Regions from separate parts of the Homo sapiens genome. Here regions 2, 3 and 4 are each linked to region 1. The links are contacts of gene promoters, found by promoter capture Hi-C in blood cells and fetal thymus (Javierre and others, 2016). All regions are on one chromosome and are shown on one strand. The core of a region is centred on a gene start or on the middle of the fragment in contact, and the rest is flanking DNA. Distances in the headings are between cores, read along the strand shown.

Evidence for each region. Contacts are between HindIII fragments. The CHiCAGO score rates a contact against its expected background, and 5 or more counts as called.
Region 2: a contact is called between a fragment that was not itself captured here and the fragment with the promoter of SZT2-AS1 in region 1, in 1 of 17 cell types (M0 macrophages). The highest score is 6.4, in M0 macrophages.
Region 3: a fragment that was not itself captured here is called in contact with the fragment with the promoter of SZT2-AS1 in region 1 in 1 of 17 cell types (M2 macrophages); the score reaches 5.0 in M2 macrophages.
Region 4: a fragment that was not itself captured here is called in contact with the fragment with the promoter of SZT2-AS1 in region 1 in 1 of 17 cell types (M1 macrophages); the score reaches 5.1 in M1 macrophages.

Annotation. Positions count from the first base shown.
Region 1 is chr1:43,444,200-43,450,257 of GRCh38, reverse strand. It overlaps SZT2-AS1 (SZT2 antisense RNA 1), which reads left to right and starts at 1,614. Exons shown (of 2, transcript NR_046744.1): 1 at 1,614-2,155; 2 at 2,326-2,482. It overlaps SZT2 (SZT2 subunit of KICSTOR complex), which reads right to left. Exons shown (of 72, transcript NM_001365999.1): 63 at 4,274-4,364; 64 at 3,999-4,079; 65 at 3,842-3,916; 66 at 3,090-3,303; 67 at 2,560-2,713; 68 at 2,287-2,409; 69 at 1,774-2,179; 70 at 1,530-1,646; 71 at 87-155. It overlaps MIR6735 (microRNA 6735), which reads right to left and starts at 1,719; the gene lies at 1,647-1,719. The HindIII fragment of the contact is 12,682 bases long and covers 1-6,058 here.
Region 2 is chr1:43,213,449-43,219,506 of GRCh38, reverse strand. It overlaps CFAP57 (cilia and flagella associated protein 57), which reads right to left. Exons shown (of 23, transcript NM_001378189.1): 12 at 4,091-4,252; 13 at 1-125. It overlaps LOC105378685 (a long non-coding RNA gene), which reads left to right. Exons shown (of 5, transcript XR_007066041.1): 2 at 4,114-4,241. Among named protein-coding and RNA genes, the nearest start is that of CFAP57, 44 kb to the right of the region's middle. The HindIII fragment of the contact is 1,017 bases long and covers 3,268-4,284 here.
Region 3 is chr1:43,662,296-43,668,353 of GRCh38, reverse strand. It overlaps KDM4A (lysine demethylase 4A), which reads right to left. Exons shown (of 22, transcript NM_014663.3): 5 at 5,267-5,460; 6 at 2,609-2,658; 7 at 1,799-1,902; 8 at 1,263-1,400; 9 at 335-582. It overlaps LOC124904165 (a long non-coding RNA gene), which reads left to right and starts at 522. Exons shown (of 3, transcript XR_007066050.1): 1 at 522-610; 2 at 1,242-1,496; 3 at 3,363-4,724. RefSeq lists enhancers at 843-2,042, 3,684-3,743, 4,034-4,113. The HindIII fragment of the contact is 3,212 bases long and covers 1,700-4,911 here.
Region 4 is chr1:43,240,286-43,246,343 of GRCh38, reverse strand. CFAP57 (cilia and flagella associated protein 57) reads right to left here. Exons shown (of 23, transcript NM_001378189.1): 22 at 2,985-3,117. All of the region lies in intron 1 of LOC105378685 (a long non-coding RNA gene), which reads left to right. All of the region lies in intron 1 of LOC124904164 (a long non-coding RNA gene), which reads left to right. Among named protein-coding and RNA genes, the nearest start is that of TMEM125, 27 kb to the left of the region's middle. The HindIII fragment of the contact is 1,700 bases long and covers 2,625-4,324 here.

The DNA.
Region 1 (6,058 bases), core at 365-2,864:
CACCCCAACCTCAGCAGGCTCCGAGGTGGAGCATTTGGGGTACGGCCTCCCATGAGGCTGACACAAAGCCCCCCACTCGTTCTTACCGTCTTTCCTAAGTGGGAGTCCAGAAACACTAGCACAAAGCAGTCAGTGAACTTCTGATTCAGCACAACCTGCAGTGAAAGATGAGGAGGGGACACAGACCCTACAGACCCTCCCACAGGGCATCCTGAGGTGAAGGGAGGATGAGGAGAGGCCTACTTCCATCTCCACACCTCACCCCGCCTGCACCCTGAGGTCACATAGGACCGTGTCTCCAAATTGAGCCTCAGTCCTCATCCTCGCTGGCTTGCTGGTCAGCCTGTCTGAGCTGCATCAGAATGAGGGGTAACAGTTGATCCTGGAGGCCCCACACAGAGCCTGGCACACTGAAGCCAATCAACAGAGAGTGCTGTACCCCTGGCACAACCTCCTTGCCTCCTGTCCTGGGACTCCTCTCTGACCACCCCTGGGATTGTCTTGTCGTCCCCTTATGTCCATCTGCTCCCTAACGCTCTGCTTGGTGATCCATCCCGGGATGATTTGCTCTCCCAAGGCTTCAGTTACCGCCTGTTCACAGAGCTGCTGCCTAGGACTCTCCTGAGCTCGAATCCCTGATGCCCACAGACCTTGCAGACAGTGAAGGGCCTATGGACCCCAGACTCAGCTTGCCCCAAGCTGGGCTTGTCACCCTTCCCCAAAACCCACTCCTGCTCCAGCCTTCCCACCACCCGCAGGAGCACCTGCCTCCATTCACAACCGCCGACACTACTGCAGCCTCATCCTAACTGACCTTGGCTTCTCTGGGAGACCCTTCCTGCACCCTGAAATGAATCCTCTGCACAAGCACTGTGCTGCAGGACCCCTCACCTGGCTCCACCTCCTACTTTCTCACTTGAAGTCTTCTCTTGTAATGCCTCCTCTCTTGAACCTCAGCTCTGGCTGGGCCCATCTCTGTGGGCTCCTTAATGCCCTGTGCTCGTGTCCACCACCACAGTTCTCTCTACCTGTCCTTTACAGCAGTGCTTTCACGCCTCAGTGTGCACACAAATCACCTGGGGAGACTGTCAACCTGCAGATCCCGAGTCAACAGTCTGAAATGTGGCCGGAGAGCCTGCATTTCAGCAAGCTCCCAGGTGCTGCGGCTGCTGGTCTGTGGACCACACTTTAAGTAACAAGGCTTCAAAGTCCAAGGGGTCCTTTCTGGGGCTCCAGCCTACTGACAAAGTTCTGACAGCTCCTTGGGTTGTCAGTTCCAGAGCCTGGCCCTCAGGATCTCAAGCCAAGGCTTGTATTCTTGGTGAGTCTTTGAGGGCAGAGCTGCTCAGAGAATCACATGCTGTAGCTCGATGCCCGGTACTGGAAGGGTTTTACATGTATCTGTGTAGTCCCGTTCTGTCTAGGCCTCCCTCCAGAGCAGAGCTTGTTTGGTCAGGCTGAGGGGCACATCTGTTTGGTGAGGATTTCTGCTGTGTTTCCCTTTTCAGAGGAAGCTCAAGGGGACTTACCAGGTACTGAGTTCCCAAGTCTGGGCTTTGGAAATGGCGACAGCTCTGGGGGAAGCGGCTTAGGAGAACTTTGATCAGGCTCTGGTACCAGGAGACCGTCATGGATAGGAAGCAGTCCTGAGGGAGGAGCCACAGGCCTGAGTCTTCTGTGCCAGTCACCTCAGATTCCTGTGCCCTCTGCCCTGGCTGCCAGTGGAATTCCTGGCACCTATCCCAGCTCTTTCGGGAGCCCACAGTTCCTTACCAGCTGGGGGTCGATGTCCCCAATGGATTTGGCATGGACTGCTTCTAGGAGTTCCTCCAGCTCTGCCAGGGCCAGGCGCCCCCCTAGCCGCAGTCGATCAGGCCCCGGTGGCTCCAGCAAGAAGAGGCGCTTCCAAAGGGTGTCCCGACGGCAGTGCCCTCCAGCCAGCCGCACCAGCTGAGCCAGCCGTGCTCGTGCCATGCCCACCTCTGCAGCCAGTGGTGGGAACAGAGGAGCCGGTCCAGGCGCTAGAATAAGCCCTGAGGCCTCCCCAGGGCTGCCAGCTGAACTCCCAGGAGCCTCTGGCTCAGGGGGCAGTCTGGGTGGCTTCCGGAAGCGGCGCATGTCAGCAGTGAGCCTGGGGAAGAGCTCTCGCTGGCTGGTGAGCACCACGAAGAACTGTAGCCTGGGGTGGGGAGCAGGGCAGGAGAGTGGTGGTTGTAGCAAGAGACACACAGGGCAGGGTGGGGCAGGCTGGGAAATGGGCATGTTCAAGGTAGGGGATCTGCTGACCGCAGAACGTGCCGCTCAGCCTCTCCTTGCTCCTCAAAGGGTGCAGCACAGTGACAGACAAGCAGAGACACATCAAAGTCATCCTGGTGTCGAAGTCCCTCAGAGTCCAGGTAGGAGCCAGAACTGTGCAGGACGGGTTGGGGAGATGTCAACTCTGGGGTTCTAATAAAACAAACCTCACCCCTGCCCAAGAAAACATTGGTCTCCCTACTGCAAGTATGTCCCAACCCCAGCTCCTGCAGCGTGCATGCTGGATGCCCCTCTCAGCCTTACCTGTGCCATGCCGACACCAGGGCATACTCGTTGTGTTCTGGGCCCCCTGGCCGGGCCATTCGCAATGGCTTCATGTGGTAAGAGCTGGCGTGATCAGCCACGTAGTTGTATAGCTGGTGGGCAGCAATGAGTGGTGTGGGGAGCTCCAATGTCCCTGAGGGATAAGTAACAGGAGACAGCAGACACTAAGCCTAGGACAGACACACTGGTCTGGTGGGGCACAGGGATGGGAGTCTTTAAGGCTCTGACTGGCAGGCAGAGTGGGTCTGCTTTCCTTAGGAGCTCCTGCATTCCTGTGGAACACTGAGATGGGACAGAAGTGACTCAGAGGGCAGGGGACATGTGACATGGGGTCCAAACTCTGGTAAGAAACAGACACAGGACAGAAACATGGGGACGTGGTATGTGTGACATGAGATGATTAACAACATGGGACCACTTGTCCAGGGAGGTGGTCCCACCAGCCCTGACCTGGAGGCACCTGTGGCCTGTTCTTTTTTGGGTTCACTGGCTTGCCCTTGGGCACTGACCTTGGTAAATGTGATTGCGGCCAAAGTGGGGTCCGTCAGGGTGGTGGGCCAGGAAGTGTCGCAGAAAGGTGGTGAGGTGGTAGCCGTGCCGCAGCACCAGATGGGCACCTAGCACGTGCTGATGCACGAGGCGCAGATGGAAGTCATAGCTGAACGAGTGCACGTGCATCAGGTCCCGCACCTTGTCACACTCCTCTGTGAACAGCATGGACAGCTGGGGAGGCAGCAGCAGGAGACAGGGTTAAGGTATGGCTGCACTGGCTGCCCAAAACACATTTCCCTCCTTCCGTGGGAAGAAGCACAAGATTTCCCCTGCTGCTGTGGCCTAGTGGAACGCCCTCTGCCAGAATGGTTTCTGTGGGAAGGCCTCCCCATTCTAGCCTCCCTTTTTCATACTGTATTGTAACTATCTCCATGAAACTAGGGCCATTTTCAGAAACTGGGCCATTTTGCTCTATCCCAGATTCCATCAGGGTCTGCCACAGACTCTAGATGACTACAGGCCAGACCAGGCACTGTGCTGCCTCAGGGCTACAGCTGAACACGCTTTGGATGACCGATGGGGTCAGCCTTGTAGTGAGTGCAGTCATGGCACCAGAATGAGCACTGACCTAGCCAGGCCATAGCAGTGAATCAATCACTGGGCCAGCCCGCCTACTGCATTACTCTACTGCCCAGCAAATGGGACATGGAGCCATGCTGCCCACAGCACACTGGGGTGCACTGACTGTGCCCGCAGCTCATTCACATACCTGTGAGTTGACAGCCTGCCCCATTGGGATTCGGGAACATTCCAGGGCAAACTGTTTGACACAGAAGTAACAGCCCTGGAGGGAAGGTGAAGATGAGATCAGGAAGGCGAGAGACAGGTGGGTCTGGCTGTCTCCACTCAGTGCTCCTCCTGCTTACCTGGAATGCCAGTTCCATGAGGATGATGCCCCCAGGCAGTGCCCGCTGCAGGTGGTAGGTGGTTACCGGAGAGCTAGTGCTCTGAAGAAACAAAAAAGGGGGCAAGGTTTGGGGGCTCACCAGCCTCGAATCAGTAGGGTGGAAGTCCCTTGGACCCTGACTTTAATGGTGTCAGTCTGGGATCAGTGACCTCGGTACATCACTCAGGGTCAATGACCTCAGGCCGTGGGAAAGTAATTTAGCATCAGTAACTTTACCATTATATGACAAGTTACCTTGGGGCTCCCATCAGTCTTGGTTTTAGGGCAGGAGAAGGAGCCTCGACCCTCTGTTCCAAGGATAGCCATGGCCCGTGGCCGGCTGGTGCTATAGAAAAGGAGGAGGGATAAGAGGATGAGGCAGGCTAGTGGCATGCAGTCATGGTGATCAGACCCAGAATCTGTTTTATATGGAATCATTTTGCAAGGGAGGAAACAGACCCACAAAGCTGCCACTGTGAGTGGCAAGGCTGGGCTTGGAGTCCAGGTCTAGACTGCAAGGCTGGGCTCTCTCCATAGCAGCTGCTGCTTCAAGGGAGGCAAAAACAGTGCTCAGTGGGGAGGTGGAGACTAAGCCTCTGCTACTGAGAGGGTGTGTGCTGGGCAGGAAAGAGAAGGGGGAAGGTGATGCCTGTCTACAATTTGATTAGGAAAATTCAAGGAGATGCTTGATGCCTGGTTAGGTACCTTCCTCTGAAAGGGCAAAGCTGCTGTCTTTTGATTGGGGGGGATGGCAGTTCCAGGCTTTCAGAGGCCTACTGCTCGTTACAGTTTAGTGCAGAGGATAGGGGAGAAGGGAAGCAGGGGAGGGACTGGGAAGAAGGGACAGAACAGAAGGGGTTGGGGGGACCCACTCACGCCAAGGGGCTATAAACTGCCAGAATTCTTGCTGGGGGTCAAAACCTCTGGTGGAAAAAATGTCCCATTTAAACCTCAAGGAAACTGGGACAAGACTTAGTGATTGGTGATTGTTAAAGATTGGTGGGAAGGGAAGACCTGGCTTTAAATTTTGCTGTAGAAACATTTTTTTTTTTAACCCAGTGTCTAAAGGAATTCAGATTTGGGGGAAAGAGCATAACTTATGGCAAGTGTGCAAACTAAAGTCCTTTAGAGAAGCTCCTAGAGCTGGGAACTGGCTGTCAAGATAGCAAGCTGGGCAGCTCCTCCCCAGGGTAGGAGGGGCCAGCCTGGCCTCTGAGATGGGATCACAGGAGGGGCAGGCACGCCTTCTCTTCCTAATGCCTGGAAGAGAGGGAAACCTGGGGAGTGGGGAGCTGGTCACAGAAACATGAGAGAGTTGGAACTGGCATTTCTGGACTACTGGCTTGAAAAGGTTCTAACTGAAAACAGAGAGGAGGGAGAACATGCCTTGATAAACTCACAAATCTGGAGACACGAAAGTAGCTATGTGTAAGGTGAACAGCTCATTTTTCGCATACAGCCACTGGGAAAGGGCAGAGAACACAGAATCTGGAGAGGAACATAGAGCAGGGGCCACAAACACGGGAATCTGAGATTTGACAGTGGATGAAAAGGTGGCTGCAGAGTTGTCCCTGAGCTCAGGGGAGATGGAGGTGGCAACAGACGGGCTGCCTACTTCCCAAGACTCAGACCTGTCAGTACTGGCCAGTGGGTGAACATGACCAAGAACAGGCCAAGGACAGTGATGCAAGTAGGCCTAGCACAGAGGTCCTTGGTGAGAAAAGGACTTCCCTGGGCCGAGAACTACATCAAATCTCAGGAGAGGTCAGTGGGATGATAAGGACAGGAATCATTAAGTCCTAGATCCAGAGGCTTAGGAGCATGTACAAGATTCACATGTGCAGGCCGGGCGTGATGGCTCACACCTATAATCCTAGCACTTTGGGAGGCTGAGGTGGGCGGACTACCTGAGTTGAGGAGTTCAAGACCAGTCTAGGCAACATGGTGATACCCCATCTCTACTAAAATACAAAAAATTAGCCAAGCAGGGTGGCGTGCACCTGTAATCCCAGCTACTTGGGAGACTGAGGCACAAGAATT
Region 2 (6,058 bases), core at 2,527-5,026, 230 kb after region 1:
TGGATGAACTTGTCTGTTAGCTCCTTAATCTTCTCAGAATAGTTCATGTCCTTTAGTCGGAGTTGATACTCATTCTCCATTTTTAATTCCTCCACACGAGTCTTTAGCTCCAACATAACCTGAGCCTTTGGGAGAAGGACAGAAGGATCAAGAACACTGACAGTAAGGGTGACTCAGAATATTTAAACCTGCGGCCTTGACCTGAGACCTGCAGCTCTGCCTAGCTTCAAACTCAATGTGTCTCAACTAGAACTTGTCATCTTTTCCCCAGAAGGCACATCAGCTAAAAATGAGGAGACATATGAGCTTCCTCCTCTATCCTCAAAAAATCTTTACTACATTGTGCTAGTCATGCGCTCATCTCATTCAAGTCGGCTTAAGCATCTCCTGCTTGACGAGGCTGACTTGCACCACACTGTTTAATTCTGCAACCCCTTCCCATTCCCAGGACCCATCACCTCTCTTACTCTGCTCTACTTCTTATTTCCTTAGATCTTGCACTTTCTACAATTTACTTATTATTTTGTTTATTGTTTTTATTCTTCTTTCCCCATCAGAACTTAAGCTCCACATAGACCAGAATCTTTGTAGGGTTTGTTTGCTGATATATCCCAAGTACGGGAACAATGTCTAACACAGAGTAAGATCTCAGAAGATATTTATTGAAGCATGATGGCTGTCCCCATGTAACTTAGAGTCTACTGAGGCAGCCAGACAAACACATTATTACAAATTGTGGTAAGTGCCCAAAGCTGGGTGGTTCTCAGTACTGCCAATCTGTCCCTCTTGATGTCTTCTTAGACTCACTTTTAATACTTTAATATAGGTCCTAACTCTTCTGTCTTGCTGGTTTTTATGCCTAGTATCTTCTTATTCTTCCTTTTTTTCTCTTTTTTTTTGAGACATGGTTTCACTCTGTCACCCAGGCTGGAGTGCGGTGGTGTGATCATGGCTCACTGTAGCCTTGACCTCCTGGGCTCAAGTGATCCTCCCACCTCAGCCTGCCAAGTAGCTGGGACTACAGGCATGCCCCACCACACCTGGCTAATTTTTATATTTTATATTTTTTGTAGAGATGGGGATCTCACTATGTTGCCCAGGCTGGTCTCGAACTCTTGGGCTCAAGCAGTCCTCCTGCCTCAGCCTCCCAAAGTACTGGGATTACAGACTGAGCCACCGCACCCGGCCTAGTGTCTTCTCCCATCGTACTCAATGATGCCAAAGTTTTCTAAAAATACTATAATACACACACCCTTCATTTCCTTAAAAAGTTAATGTTGATGACAGAGTGGGTCAGAATGCAGTGTTTTCTTCTTGCTTACCTATGGGGACACCCCGTGCATCCCTATCTCATCATTTCTGGTCTGTCTCCTCTACCACCTGTGAACGACTTGACATCAAGGAATGGATTACGCACATTTCTGCATTCCTGGCCAGCAGACTAGTGAGGATCTGGTGCACAGGAAGTACTGAGAAGAAGGATAAGCACAAATTGCACGTGCAAAGTCAGAGAGGATGGAGCAGGAATGCCTGGCCAGGGCACTCACTGCATGTGATATGGCACAGGTTGGATGTATAGGAAGGGGCAGCCAAGACTGCGTCAGACCATCAGGGGCCCGGTAGACCATGCTAGGAAGTTTGGATTTTATCTTAGAGGGCTTCCAAAGGTCCTCATCGAACCCGATCAGGCTGACTTTGGTGTTATAAAGATCTCTCCAATGGCGGTACGCAGCACGGACTAGATTAAGGAAGGACCAAAGGCAGGATGATGAGTTGCTGGGGTGGGTGGGCGGCAACTGCATAGACCAGGCGAGAGACAGACAGGGTTTGGACTGAGGTAGGGAAGGGGACCAGAGAGGAATGGAGAGGTTGGAGAGAGTGAGTTTAGAGAGGATAGTGCCTGACTGGGTGTGGGGTGGAGAGGTAAGGATCATGGATGAAGGCTGTCTCCTAGGTAGAAGGACCGGTACCTGAGGGTGGGGCTTGGCCTGTCTTGCTTCTCTGCTTTATCCCCAGAACCTAGCATAAAACTAGCAGCATGGTCAGCACTGAATGAATACTTATCAATGATCCCAGGGGTCTGCCCTGGCTAGTGGGATATATTTATCCATGGGAATGACCCGGCCTTTGACATGCTGTGTTTGAGGTCCTTGTTCAGTGTCCTTCCTCCATCTATTCTTCACATTGCTGCAGATTATTCTCTCCGAGATGCGAATCATGTTAAGTCATTCCCCAGCTTAAATTTATGAATGGTCCTTATGAACAATGTCCAGCCTAATGCAGGGTGTAAAAGGCCCCCCTGACCTGTTTCTCTCCAGCTTCATCTTCAGCCCTTCTCTCTGGCACAACCTAACTAGGAGCAGCTTTGCAGACCACCACTCCCTCATCCCTCTGCACACACTCACTGCTCATTGCTCACTGGCCCTTGTCCATTTGTCCTGGAAGGATCTGAGCAAGGCTCATGTCCTCTGGCACCACCTGGCCTGAGCCAAGTTCCTTCCCCTGTGCTCCCACAGCATCGTTCTTTCATGACACTTCATTCCACTGCACGTTTAATTCCCTTCTTTGTGATACTCTGCCCTCTTCCCAGGCTATCAGCTAAAGGATGCTTTATGTCTTTTATCTCTGTAATCCCAGACCTTAGTATAGTGTCAGGTACACAGCAGACCCCTCTGTAAATCCTAGGCAGAGAAGGTAAATCATGGCCTGAGAGTTACTTAGACTATAATGGAATATAAAGAGAGTTGGGAATTCTGGGAACATGCTTTTTAAGGGACAGGCGGAGGAAGAGCCAGGACAGAAGCGGGGAGGAGGAGTCAGAAAGGTTTTCAGGGAACAGAGTGTGGTCACAAGGATGGTAAGACAGAAGGGAGTTTCAAGAAGGAGCGGTATATGCACAAGTCATTTCCAGCCTGGCAGCGGTACTGTCAGGCCCATCTGGGGGCTGTGGTCAGAAGCCAGCTTGGGCACCTTCAGGCCTTTGGTTCAGCCTGCTGTCTCCTATTTGGCCTCTTCCCCTACCCTCTGGGAAGAACAGAAAAGATAACAGAGAAAAGGAAATGTCCCTTCTGCAGCAGGTCAGGCCCCCACTCTCACGGGCCCCTCCCTCATCCTCTTCTCCCTCTTTGCTTTTCCTGCAGAAAATTCTAGGGAGCTCTGGAAGGGATCTCCAGCGAATGCCAGGGGCTTGTCACCGTGCTTTGTGGCAGTGTTGTATTGCTGCTCTGATGGCTTTACTTGTTTCTATCCCTCACTTGACTGTAAGCTTCCTGGTCATGTCACAGGGCCCACAACTGTCTTTTCACATGTGCATCCCCAGTGCCTAGCAAATGGTAGGTGTTCAATAAACACACTTAAGATTCTGGACAAACAGCAATGACTGTGTAGCTTTGCGATCCTCCATGAGCCTTGTGTGTTTATCATCCATTCAGCTTCTCCCTTAGGAAGCGTAACACAGAGCTATGCACTCATATCTCTGCAAAACACACCTTTATGGAATGTTTACTGCATCAACAGGAAGGAAGGGATGTCCCTTTGGTATAGTGATTAAGGGAGGGGGCTCTGGATTAAATCTGGATTAGAACTCTAGTCCTATTAATTATTAGCACACTGACTTTGAACACATCCCTCAAGCTCTCCTAACTTGTTTTTTGAAACATGGGGAGAATGACAGTATCTTCTTCATAGAGATGTTGTGAGATTTAAATGAGAACATACTTTACTTTTGTAAATATTTATTGATTGTCTTCCATGTGCCCAGCATGTGCTAGGAACTGTTGGTCATAAGAGAACTGTATGTTTCATTATTCTTGGTTTCAAAGAGTAGGAAGAGAAAACCAGATCACAGAATAAAAGCAAAGCACAGTGTAAGTCAAGATGATCACATGGCAGAAAGACAGGCAGAGTCGGGTGGACAGTGGCAATGAGGAGGAGAGCTTGGTTGTGGGGACAGCAGATGTGCAGGGAGCCGTGGGGGTCTGCACTGGGCATAGGGTGTAGCCAGGCTGTAGAGGGCCCCAGTGCTGGACCTGCATCTGAATGCAGTCTGGTAAGTAATTCCATATCCCTCTTCATTAGATCCAGTTCTTACCTTTTCTTCCATGTCTGTTTTAGTCACAAGCACCTCTTCGGCAAAGCCCACCTCCCTCTCTCGCTTGATTCCCCGGCCATCCTTATCAAAGACCTTCCAGGTGAACAGGCAGCCATCCTCAGCAGCAGTCAGCAGGAACTGATCATCAAAGGTAAGCAACATCTGAAGAGAAAAAGGGTCATGGCCAGGAAGCTTTCAAGGCCACAGATGACCAGGGCTGAGCCAGCTGTTGCGCAAGGCTTCCCCCCATGCAATCCTGGGCACAGCCTCACAGGGAGGTAAACTTGATCCCAGGTAAGAATGAGAGAGGAGCCCTCACAGGCATCTGTTAATGAATAGAAGAAGTAAGGTTACGTCTACATTCTCTGTGGATTTGGAATCTGAAGAGTCAGCTATTATCTAGAACGAACAAGAAACTCTCAAAACTCAACAGTAAAAAAGCCAAACAATCCAATCAGAAAGTAGACAAAAGATAAGGAGACATTTCACCAGGGAAAATACACAGATGGCAAGTAAGCACATGAAGAGATACTCCGCATTATTAGCCATTTAGGAAAATGCAAAATTAGGACCATGATGAGATATCACTACACACCCATTAGAACAGCTAAAATAAAAAACAGTGACAACACCAAGTGCTGGCAATGATGCAGAGAAACTGGGTCTCATACATTCTTGGTAAGAATGTAAAATGGTACAGCCACTCTGGAAAATAGCTTGGCAGTTTAAAAAAAAACAAACCTGAATATACACTTACCATATGATTCAGCAATTATACTCCTGGGCATTTATCCCAGAGAAATGAAAACTTATTTCCACACAAAAGCCTGTATATGATTGGTCACAGCAGCTTTATTTATAATAGCTGAAAACTGGAAAAAATTAAAAATATCCTACAATAGGTGAATGGCTATACAAACTGTGATTTGTTTTTCATGGAATACTACTCAGAAATAAAAGGGAATAAACTATGATTGATACACAACACAACTTGGATGGATTTGAAGATTTAGCTGAGTGGAAAAAGCCACAATCAGGACATTAAGCTAAAAAGCTTCTGCACAGCAAAGGAAACAATCAACAGACTGAAGAGACGACCTGTCGAATGGGAGAAAATATTTGCAAACTATTGCTCTGACAAAAGACCAATATCCAGAATACCAAAGAACTCAAACAATTCAACATTAAACAAACAAAAAAATCTAAAAATCTCATTAAAAAGTGGGCTAAGGGGCGGGCGTGGTGGCTTACACCTGTAATCCCAGCACATTGGGAGGCTGAGGAGGGTGGATCACCTGAGGTCAGGAGTTTGAGACCGGCCTGGACAACATGGTGAAACCTCATCCGTACTAAAAATACAAAAATTAGCTGGGCGTGGTGGCAGGCACGGTAATCCCAGCTACTCGGGAGGCTGAGGCAGGAGAATCTCTTGAACCCAGGAGGGGGAGGTTGCAGTGAGCCGAGATTGAACCATTGCACTCCATCCTGGGTGACAAGAGCAAAACTCTATCTCAAAAAAAAAAAAAAAGTGGGCTAAGGACATGAATAGACATTTCTCAAAAGAAGACATACAAATGGCCAACAGGTATATGAAAAAATGCTCAACATCACTAATCATCAGGGAAATGCAAATCAAAACCACCATGAGATACCATCTTACCCCAATTAGAGTAGGTATTATCAAAAAGACAACAAATAACAGATTCTGGCAAGAATGTGGAGAAGAGAGAACTCTTATACACTGTTGGTGGGAAGGTAAATTAGTACAACCACTATGGAAAACAGTATGTAGACTTCTCAAAAAAACTAAAAATAGAACTACCATACAATCCTGCAATCTCATTACTGGATACTTTTCTAAAGGAAAGGAAATCAGCAGATTGAAAGGATACCTGCGCTCCACCGCCCCCCCCATATTTATTGTACCACCAATAGTAAAGATATGGAATCAACCTAAGTGTCCATCAG
Region 3 (6,058 bases), core at 2,056-4,555, 220 kb before region 1:
GGAGATCGAGACCGTCCTGGCTAACACAGTGAAACCCTGTCTCTACTAAAAATACAAAAAATTAGCCAGGCGTGGCTGTAGGTGCCTGTAGTCCCAGCTACTCGGGAGGCTGAGGCAGAAGAATGGCCTGAACCCGGGAGGCGGGGCTTGCAGTGAGCCGAGATCGCACCACTGCACTCCAGCCTGGGCGACAGAGCGAGACTCCATCAAAAACAAAAACAAAAACAAAAACAAAACAAAACAAAAAAAACAAGAAACAGCCTCTCCACAGATTACAGGACCTACCCAGACATCCCTCCCTCACGCAGCCAGGACAAAAGGGCTGCTGGGTTACCTTGTCTTCAGGTCTCCTTCCTCTCCATCCTCCACCCCTTCCATGTCCTCCTCTGGGCACTCCTCCTCGTTGCCAGCTCTTGGAGGCAGTTCACTCTCCTTAAGAAACTCAGCTGCTTCTGGCGTGGGCAGAGTATGGTCAATAACTGTGTTGTCCTTCCCAGCTTTCCAAAGTTTGTACCTTTCTGGCTGGAACTTTCTCACAAACACATCCATGGAGATCTTCACCATGTCCTTTCTACAGGAGCACTGTCAGCAGGAACCAGAAGAGCACCAGGTGAGCATACCTTGCTGCTTCCAACTCACCCCCACGTCCTAGCTCCTCCCTCCACATGGAAACAAGTGCAAGATGGTTTATAACCAGATTGTTTTGGTTCACAGGCTGAGGGCATGTTATCCTTGCAGGACCTTCAAACATGAAGGGAAGCAGGGAAAAAAAGGCAGAGAGCACATGCTACTGGGGCAAATCTACCTGGGCACTAACTCGGGGTCACAGAGGGTGGTTAGGCTCTGCACTTAGGCCCCCAGGACGGTGAGCCACCTGCCCTTGTTCCCTGTCCAAGCCAGGAACACACAAGCAAGTCTACTACTATCAGTCAAAGGCCCGACCCTGCTGCTTCCCTAGAGTAAAGGAAACCCCTAAAAATTTCAACAGAGAAATCTCGGAATGGATAAACAAGAGTATTAACGTGTGTGGATGTGGTTTTAATGCCTAATGGACTTAAGAACCTCATTTTATACTTCCCAATTCTGAACACATTTTTAAAAATTCCTTATGAACACAAAATGTTAGTACTCTGACACATTGCTAGCTGCTTGTTTCTGAATTCCAGCAGCTCAAAGAAATACTCTAATCACCAGCCAACGTATCTAACCAGAATTTGCTCATTTTTGTCATGGTGTTATAGAAAGAAATCAAGCAGACTTACCAGCACAGCTTGCTTGCCGTACTCAATCCACCGACGGGTAGCAAAATTGGTAGACTCCGCACAGTTAAAACCATGGTTAAAGCCGGCATGGTAACCATAAGGGAAAGTGATCATAAACTCTCCAGCCTCTTGAGTCACCTGAACAAGAGCAGACTTGAAGCAGCTGCTTCAAATGGCAGAAGTCCACAGAACTGGAATTCTGAGCTCCACCACAACTTAGCTGAGTAACAAAGGGTAAGTCATAAAACCCCTGGGGTCCTTGCTGTCTTCTATAAAATGCAAAGCCCAGACATATCAGATGACATGACTATAATTAACCATTCCTCCAAATGAACACTGTTCTAGGGGATCTGACTCTCCTCTGGCACCAGGAAGCTACAGTGGCCCCACCTTTAATGCTCTTAGATCAAAGTGTTGTTACATAGTTTATTTAAGCTTTGGCCCCCTCTTGGTATAGTGATGAACTAGAATAAAACTGTAAAACAAAGGCCAGAAAGGGTGGTGCCTGAGAACTTTGGCATGTAACATCAGCTCACCTTGTCAAAGGGAATTCCATATTTCTTCAGCATTAACGGGGAAATCAGGGTCATCTTGTGGCGGAGAAATGCCTCACAGCTTTGAGCACTTCCTGGGAAAAAGCCTATTTAATTGAAAGGGTACAGGTTAACACAGTGCTCCACACTAGCTCCGCAATCCTGGAGTCACTTCACACCTGTGCTTCTCATCGGAATGATAAAGAGGATGCATCACCAATGTGACCTCTGAGGATCCTTATAGCTCCGCACCAATTCTAAGATTCTGCAATGAGCCTCTAGGCTCACTCCCATGTAGGGCATTACGTGGGTAATGAAATCCTGTTTGGGAAACCAAGGTCACCCAAGCTGCCTCTGTTCTTATAGAGCTTTGAAACTATTTAGGACCTTTTCTCCAGTCACTTGTATCCCTGATCTTTTTTCAGTAATGCAGCTGTAGTATCATCTACCCAGGCTTTCCTATGTTCTCCAGACATACAAATCTAAGTCCACTTAAAAGAAACAAAGCATAAAGTTCAATTTTTTCTTTAACATTTGGGTCTTTAGTGGAAACACCAGTCATACTGGGTCTGGTTCATTATCGCTGGTCAAAGAAACACCCCTGCTCATTAAAACTGAGGCACAGACAGTCAGGACAAAGGAAGAAAAGGCTCCGTCACTGCCCTCTTAAGGTAACCAGTGTGGCTCACCCCCGTCTGCAGGCCTGCAACAGGACCTGCAAGTATCTGACCATGGGGAACGCACATTTTAGTGCAGAGCAAGGAGCACAGCTCATAGGAGGGTCCAATCCAGCAAACAGAAGAGACACAGTACCTTTGGCGAGGCGTTCCAACCGCTTTCCATGCTCAGGTGGAACAGAGTACCTGCAATCACATGAGAGCATCAGAGGCTGGGTGGAGGGCAGGTACAGAAGCTAAGGGACTTATTCCCACTCTCAAAACACCTTGAAATAGCAGATTTTTTTTTTAACTTCCCAAGCAGTAGAAAGGAATCTGAAAAAATGAAATATTAGACTGTTTGGGCACAGGAGTAAGGAGCCCATAAAGAAGGTGAGTGAATTTATTTCTTCTATATTCATTCACTTAATAAGATGTTTATTAAGTGTTCACCATGAGCCAGGATTTACGGTACATAATATTACTCTCCTTTATAATGTTGTTCATATAATAACATTTTTTAAAAGAAAAAAAAAGAAGGATGTCACTATATAACCTCAGTATTTAAAAATGCTCAGTATTTTTAAATGCTTGAAAGGCCTAACTGGGGGCAGGCAAGAGGAAGATGGAAAACAAAGTGAAAGATGGATCTGACACTTAAGAGACCTAGCCCCGTATCTGCTGATGAACCCACTTTCCCTTTATCTCCCCAACAGCTACATATACTGATTACCCAACAATCAATTACCTCTCTACCCAGTAGGGTGTCTAAACACCATAGAAACTGCTCTTCCTAAAAAATGAAAAGTAAAAAAGAACACCTAGGACTATTAAACTTTTGCAAAATTGTTAAACTTTATATTCTGAAACTCACAGTAACTCTGTTTTAACCTTTTTAATCTCTTCTGAAGATTATTCCACAGTAACAACAAATCCTCCCACTGCAAACAGCTTCATTATAAAACAAAACAGAGAAGAAGAGTTGACAAAAATGTCACCTAAAGGACTCTGGGATCCATCAGGCAACCCTATACAGAAGGCTCTGGAGGTCCCACTTCAGAGGACCTAAGAATGTATATAATAACTGGAAAACCTTCTTTTATAAGAGAATTCAAAAATCCAGGAGCAGTGAATTTTGGAGTAAACAATGGTGAAGACACAAAAGCTACATTTACACATCCTACAAGTCTAGCCTTCTGAGGAAGGAAAAACAGGACAGTAGTTAGGAGATAATCATAGGCTCAAAAGGTTCTTTCCCCCAAGATTAGAAACTGGAGAGCACTTGAAAGAAGAAAGGAAAACCCCTGAGAAAGAACATGGCTGAAGATGCTGAAAAAAGACCTGAAAGTGGATATGGTTTTCATGACTCCCCATAATGTGCCCCATGATGTCCCCTCCGGCCTCATCACTCACTTCTCATCGTTTTACACAGCACCCAAACTACAGCAGACTCCCCCTAGCTCCCTAAACACACCACGCCTGGCTAATTTTGTGTTTTTAGTAGAGACGGGTTTCACCATGTTGGCCAGGCTGGTCTCCAACTCCTGACTTCAGGTGATCCACCCACCTCGGCTTCCCAAAGTGCTGGGATTACAGGTGTGAGCCACCACGCCTGGCCCTCATGTGCTGTCTTAATCCAGGAGCTCTGCGTCTGTGGTTCCAACTGCCTGGATACACTTCCCTCAATCTCCCAGCTGCTAAGCCCACCACCACTCCACCCGGTTATGTCCTTCTCATGTTTTAGGTCTCACTTGTCACCTCTTTGAAAGAAGCCTTCTTTAATCCCATCTATCCTTCTTATGTGGACCTTAGCACCCACTTCTTCCCCTTCAGAGCTGTCCCCACACCGTATGAGCATTCTCTCACACTTTCTACCTCCTGACCAGTCTCCTATCTGTGTGAGGGTAGGTATCTCATCCATCTTATTCACTGCTGTTATCTGCAGCACCTTCACTAAAATGCTGAGATGGGCCGGGTACAGTGGCTCATGCCTGTAATCCTAGCACTTTGCAAGGCTGAAGTAGGAGGACTGCTTGAGCCCAGGAGTTTGAGACCAGCCTGTGCAACATAGTGAGACCCCATCTCTACCCTAAAAAAAAAGAAGGAAAAAAATTAGCTGGGCATAGTGGTGCACGCCTGTAAACCCAGCTACCTGGGAGGCTGAAGTAGAAGGATCACTTGAGCCCAGGAGGTCAAGGCTGCAGTGAGCCATAATGGTGCCACTGCACTCCAGCCTGGGTGACAGAGTGAGACCCTGTCTCAAAATAGAAAAAAAAAAATGCTGAGACTCAAAGATGGGTCAGCACAGAGAGAGGAGAGAGAACCAATGTTTGTCTCACCAACAAGAATAACACTCTGGAGAACAGGAAGCATGCTGAATAGCCTCGCAATCCCTTATGTGTTAAGCACACACTGCTGCTCCCCAAGTATTAGTATTTTTTCCATGACGAAAAGAAAGCTTTCTGTCATCTGAGAGAGTGACTCTAGTCTTGGAAGTCTGCTGCTAAGAAATGCCTCAGGCCTGTTCAGAAAAAAAATTAGAAAGCAGTGGGATAGCCTGGAAGAGCCCCCGTGTCTTTGGGTAACTGCCAGCACCCTGCTCTCTAAAGCCTCCCTACTCAAAAGGTGGTCCGAGCACCAGAGCTCCAACAGCAAGCATCTTAGCACTTGAAAGTGTGTTTAAAACATGGAATGTCACCCCAAGCCTGAACCAGGGTCTGCCCTTTAACACAATCCTGAGGTGCTTCCCACGCACAATGAACATGAGCCCGTGCTCTAGCATAGAAGCCCGGTGCCGACTGCAGGCAGACTGTACCAGGACTTTGGTTCTCCAAAGTGCAGGTAGTTGATGCTGTAGAGGTCCATGTCTTCAGTGTGCCAAGCAAAGGATGTCTTCCACATGCCAAAGTACAGGTATGGGGTGTTCACACCCTCAATGGTGATCCCACTCTCCTTTTCCACCAAGTCCAGGATTGTTCTCAGCCGGCCAATATTCCACTCATCAACATGCTGCAAAGGCAATGACAGTCCAGGGCAAGTTACATTTGCATAGAAACCGAGGCTCTGAACCTACAAATCAGAGTAGGTCACAAGTAAGCTGTCATCTCTGACAAACATTGGGAATAATGTCAAAACACTATGGACGTGAAGACCATAGCATTCCTCATTGACTTTCACGGCTACCACTGGAACTGACACCATTTACCTTCAAAGGGCAAATATTACTTTGTGAATACTAGTGTAGGAAAGATGAATAAAGAGATGACAGTCACCTGTTTGTTTTTTCGTTTGTTTTTGAGACGGAGTCTCGCTCTGTTGCTCAGGCTGGAGTGCAGTGGCATGATCTTGGCTCACTGCAACCTCCGCCTCCCGGGCTCAAGCAATTCCCTGCTTCAGCCTCCCGCGCACCTGGGATTACAGGCACCCACCACCATGCCCAACTAATTTTTCTATTTTTAGTAGAGCCGGGGTTTCACCATCTTGGCCAGGCTGGTCTTCAACTCCTGACCTTGTGATCCACCCGCCTTGGCCTCCCAAAGTGCTGGGATTACAGGCCTGAGCCACCGCGCCCGACCAAGAGTCACCTGTTTGAAACCCCAAGAGGAAA
Region 4 (6,058 bases), core at 2,225-4,724, 210 kb after region 1:
TTTCATTGGTCTGTATGTCTGTTTTTACGCCAGTATCACACTGTTTTGATTGCTATAGCTTTGTTGCAGGTTGTGAAATCAGAAAGTATGAGACCTCCAACCTTGTTCTTCTTTTTCAAGATTGTTTTGGCTATTCAGGGTACCTTGATATTCCATATGAATTTTGGAATGGATTTTTCTGTTTCTGCAAAAATGTCATTGAGGTTTTTATAGGGATTGCAGTGAATCTGCAGATCACTTTGGGTAGTACTGACATCTTAACGACAAGTCTTCCAATCCACCACTTACTGGTATTTAATTTCTTTCAGCAATGTTTTGTAGTGTTCAGTCTTTTGCTTCTTCAGTTAAATTTATTCCCAAGTATTTTATTCTTTTTGATGCAATTGTAAATGCAATTGTTTTCTTAATTTCCGTTTTGGATAGTACATTGTTAGTATATAAAAATTGCAACATTTTTGTGTGCATTGATTTTGTATCCTGTAATTGTGATTTTTGATCCTTTGTATAAAAATTTTCCTTAACTCCTTTGGAAGTCTGGAGGAGTTCTTTCCTCATACTCTGGTGTTCTGAAATTTCAAGATGATGGACTTGATGTGGGTCTGTTTTTAGCCACTGTGTTGGATAGTAGGTGGATCTAACAGCTTCTTAAACAGATTTTTTTCTGTTTTCAGCCCTACCTTCACTTCCACCTCCAGAGATATCTGCTTCTGATCATTCCTGAGCCTTTTGAGGGTTTTGTGGCATACATTGGATTTCTTCTAGGTTCACCACTCTGGCTTCTGGGTCGGGGTGGGGGTATGTTGATGAATCACAAGTGACAGGAGTTGATATTTGTTGGAAGTAGGGGACTGGGGTCCCAGGAATTGATTAGACTTCTCTCTCAATTTTTGTATATGTCTGGAAATCTCCAAGATAGTAATATGAAGACCCTGGCTATATCACATGGCATCCTGAGGAGGTCTCAAATGAATATTTGTTAGGATACTTGGACATATTTAAAACTTTTTTTTTTTTTTTGAGACAGGGTCTTGCTCTGTCACCTAGACTGGAGTGTAGTGGCGTGATCATGGCTCACAGCAGCCTTGAACCTCTGAGGTTCAGGTGATCAATTTTACTCTAAAATCCTCACACCTCAACCTCCCGAATAGCTGGGACTACAGGCATATGCCATCATGCCCGGCTGATTTTTGTATTTTTTGTAGAGATGTGGTTTCGCCATGTTGCCCAGGCTAGTCTTGAACCCTGGGCACAAGCGTTCCGCTCGCCTTGGCCTCCCAAAGTGCTGGGATTACAGATGTGAGCCACGGCGCCTGGCCTGAAACATTTTTTAAGAGAAGTTTTGCAATTGTTCACATCTGTGCTTTATTTTCAAGAGAAGATGGTTTCACCTCTGAGAAGTCAAGCATGTCAGGTTTTTTTGTTTTTTTGTTTTTTGTTTTTTGAGATGGAGTCTCACTCTGTTGTCCAGGCTGGAGTGCGGTAGTGCAATCTGAGCTCACTGCAACCTCTGCCTCCCAGGTTCAAGTGATTCTCCTGCCTCAGCCTCCCGAGTAGCTGGGACTACAGGCCCGCGCCACCACGCCCAGCTAATTTTTGTATTTTTAGTAGAGACGGGGTTTCACAGTGTTGGCCAGGATGGTCTCGATCTCTTGACCTTGTGATCTGCCTGCCTCGGCCTCCCAAAGTGCTGGGATTACAGATGTGAGCCACCGCACCTGGCCCCAAGTATCTCAGTCTTTATGACACACGCTATGCTCTCACATCAACCCTGTAGGCCTGGTATTGCCACTTCAGGTACTACTCAGGGTTTACTCTTGTTTCAACTTCAACCCTAGCCAAAAGTGCACAAGACAACAAAATTATATACATATACATAAAATCTTATATATGTATTTAATTTTGTAATTAAATGTATATAGTTATATAGTTGAAGACTAACAATAAGTTGCAAAAATAGTACAAGGTTCCTGTGTACCTTTCAGCCACTTTTCCCCATCATAAGCTTATGTGACCATGGGACAAGAGACAACTGACACTTCAGAGACCCAATCCATAGCTATGGGATGTTTCAGTTCAAGCCTCTAATCTTTATTCCTTAATGTAAACCACCAGAAAACAAAAACTTGAACCATGTTGGCTTAATTTGCCATAGAGATGCCTTAATCTCTTGGTTTTTATCGATTGTCCAGATAAGGAGTGGATACTTGAAAAATGCTTCTTTGGGGCCTGAAAGCGGCATATGTAATTAAAGGCTGTTCATTGTTACTCCACATTCCTTTTGTAAGGATCCATGTGGTAAGTTTCTCAGAGAATTTATTGCCAGGGAAACGTTTGTTTCTCCAGAAAAAAAGCTCCCTTTTGCCATACAATGAGCATGATATAAACGATCATATTTCTTTGTTTCTCTTTTTGCCTTGGCCGTCAGAAATTCAGAGGAACTTTAGGATATAATTGCAGTAACTGACTCATTTAATATTTATGTAATTATTTCCCCTCTTCCTTTAAATAGCTCCTCATCTTGCTTTTTGTCTTCATTTTAATTGTACAGGTTCACAATCCCTTATTCACTATTCTAAAATGCAAGAAGATCTAAAAACAGAGTGCTTTTTTAAATTCAGGAAGCTTAGTGTGAATATTCATATGTCACTACAGAAATACTAAAGTGTTTGATTTTAGGGCACTGCCCCAGACCCCTCTGGGAATGTTATATAAAGTATTCGCTTTCTAAAATCTAAAAGAGTCTGCATTCTGAACGGTAGCTAACCTCAAGGATGTCAGCCAGGGGACTGTGGACCTGTGTGTGTCGGAGTGTGGGAAGGCCCTCATGGATTCCTCAAAGAGCAGGTGTGTGCCCCGGACAGGATCCCAGAAGGCCATGTGTAGATGGGACCTGATACAGAAGGAAGCCAAAGGGAGACCTGCCTGCAGCTGCCATCAATCCCTTCGTCCCAGTGCCCATCTCCCCTGGCCACTGGTGATATTACCTGTCTCTGAAACTTCTTGTGGTCGGACTTTCTTGGTCAGTTTCAGAGCTGCTTCAAGGTCATAGACTTGGGACCGAGTGAACTTCAGCTCCCTGCGGAGCTCATTAATTTCCTTGATCAGAGAGACATTTTCCTGCAGAAAAGGGGGAAGAGAGAGGGAGGGTGGATGGATGAGTGGTCAGTGGGCACAAGGCATACCCTCCTGGGCTGAGTGTATGGGGAATGGGCAGGGTTAGGTCTGGATCCAGAACTCTGGATCCTCTATTGGGGCCTGAGCCTTTATTCCAGCCTATTGCTCAGCCTCTTAAGGAACCAGCTAACTTACTTTCGGGTAGACTCAGCACCATTCACATCCACCCATGCTTGTTGCAACGTCAACAGCAACAACAATGCTTTTCCATGCACTTTTTATATGAGTTTAAATGCATCATAATAACCCTATGGCTATTATTATATCACAATTATTGGCTATTATATGGCTATTATATTATATATATATAATTATATGGCTATTATAATCACAAAAACAATTATAAATTGTTATTATAATCACAATTTTACAGAAGAGAAAAGTGAGGCACAGAGAGGTATATGACTTGCTCAGTTACACAGCTAGCAAGTGGTAGAGTCAGGATTCCAACCCCAACAGTCTGGCTCCAGAGTTCGTAAGCACTGTGCTATACTTCATTCATTTTTCATTCATTTGCTGAACCCACATTTATAGGCTATCTGGTAAGTCCATAAAGTGCAAACAGAAATAGGATATGGTCTGCCCTTAGCAGCATGCTATTTAGTGAGTAAAACAGAAAAGTAAATGGATAATTAACATCTGCTGCATCCATTGGAAGCTCACTTCTCTTATTTGTGTTTGACAAATATCCATCCATCCATCCATCCATCCATCCAACCAACCATTCATCTAATAAATGTTTATTGAGTACCTATAATGTAGTCATCCAATATTATGGAGATACTATGTTAATCCTAGAGTATAGAGAGTGTAAATCTTAGCTTCTGCTCTTGAGGAGTTTACAGTTTAGTGCGGGGTGTGGGTACAGTTTAACATGGTGGCCACCTTGCTGTGATGGAGGAGTGGGCCTAGAGGAAAGATGCTTCCTTCTGCCTGAATGACTAGGGTGGATTCCTAGGAATTGACCCCTGGGCTGAGGCTTGAAGGAGTCACCAAGGAGAGGGTAAAGGGTGTCCCAGACAACTAGAACAGCAGAAGCAAAGGCACAGAATGTGACACAGCTGATGGGGGTGGGGGAGACCTGCAACAGTCCTGCATCACTGGAATGCAGAGTGAAAGGAGGGGAGTCGACAGGAGTGAGGACGAAGCTTGCTGGGGGCCAGGTGGTGCAGGCTCTGCACCCTGGGACCAAACAGTCTCTTTCCTCTTTTCCCACACCTCAAATCTCTGCCTTCCATTTCACACCCAGCACAAGTACCCCAAGGAGGAGCCCCATCCCCAAGGGCCCAAAGAGACTGGCCACTTTGCTCTTAGAGCCCACAGCCACAGTAGTCAGCTTGTCTACAGCAGTTCCTCGTGTATGACCATACAAATACATCACCTGACCACCTTGTTAGATGCCCCTCTGACTCATAGGTCTGGAATGGGCCCTGAAATCCTGCACTGGGCTTCCAAGAGATGCTGCTGCTGGTCTGCAGGCCAGACCACACTTTCAGTTGCAAAGCACCTGAGGGTCTGTATACCAGAAAAGGCAGTTGCAGGCCAAATCTACATAAAATGGACCTGTGCCAGGAACAAACTGTGCTTCTACTTGGGACATTATCTCACGAGTGGTGGCTACGGAGTCAGAGCCCAGAGAACAGGATGGTCTTAAGCACTGTTCTCCCTGAGCTGTGACAAACGGTCCTCTGCTGTGGGGAGGTACCTGTGGAACCCAGAAGGGAGCAGGGGTCGGGCTAGAGACACCGCAATGATTCTTTTCCTCCAGAAATGCTTCATCTAAAGCACAGATCTACACCTTTAGACTTCCAGTATATTACTTAATTTCAGTATTCCTTACAATATAGTTTGGATGTTTGTCTCCTCGAAATCTCCTGTTGAAAACTGATCCCCAGTGTTGGAGGTGGGGCCTAGAGGGAGGTATTTGGGTCATGGGAGCAGATTCCTCATGAAGGGCTTGGTGCCATCCTCGCAGTAATGAGTGCTTGTTCTATTCGTTCCTGCAAGAACTAGTTGTTTTAAAAGAACCTGGCCTCGGCTGGGCACGGTGGCTCACACCTGTAATCCCAGCACTTTGGGAGGCCGAGGCAGGTGGATCATGAGGTCAGGAGATCAAGACCATCCTGGCTAACATGGTGAAACCCCGTCTACGCTAAAAATACAAACAGTTAGCCGGGCGTGGTGGCGGGTGCCTGTACTCCCAGCTACTTGGGAGGCTGAGGCAGGAGAATGGCATGAACCCAGGAGGCGGAGCTTGCAGTGAGCCGAGATCGTGCCACTGCACTCCAGCCTGGGCGACAGAGCGAGACCGGCCCCTTCTCCTCTCCTACTCTCTCTTTCGCCATGTGACACGCCTGCTCCTCTTTTGCCTTCCATCATGAGTGAAAGCTTCCTGAGGTCTTGACCAGAAGCAATGCTGGTGCCATGCTTCCTGTACAGCCCTCAGAACTGTGAGCCAAATAAACCTCTCTTCTTTATAAATTACCCAGCCTCAGGTATTCCTTTATAGTAATGAAATCTCTCTGTCTCGGATGAAATGCCCAGTCCTCATTGTCAACCCCTCATTCTTCATGCTAGGATTTGTACTTGTGTTTCTGAATCAGATGTTTTCTCCATCGAATGCTTTACCCTTTGAACCAACCCAGGCCTTGCTGATTGTAGTGTGATGGGTCCCCCACCAGGTTACTTAAGGGTGTATGTTCACTGTCTGAACCCTCAAGGCCAGGCAGTTAGTCAAGGCCATGGTGCCCAGCTGTGGAGCAGGTGTCCCTGAGAATCCAAACATCCTAGAAGATATCTGAAAACCTACTAAGGAAAACAGTCCCATGGCACATACACAGTAGGTGAAGAGCCAGAAAATTAGCTTAAAAGCAGCTTAGCGATG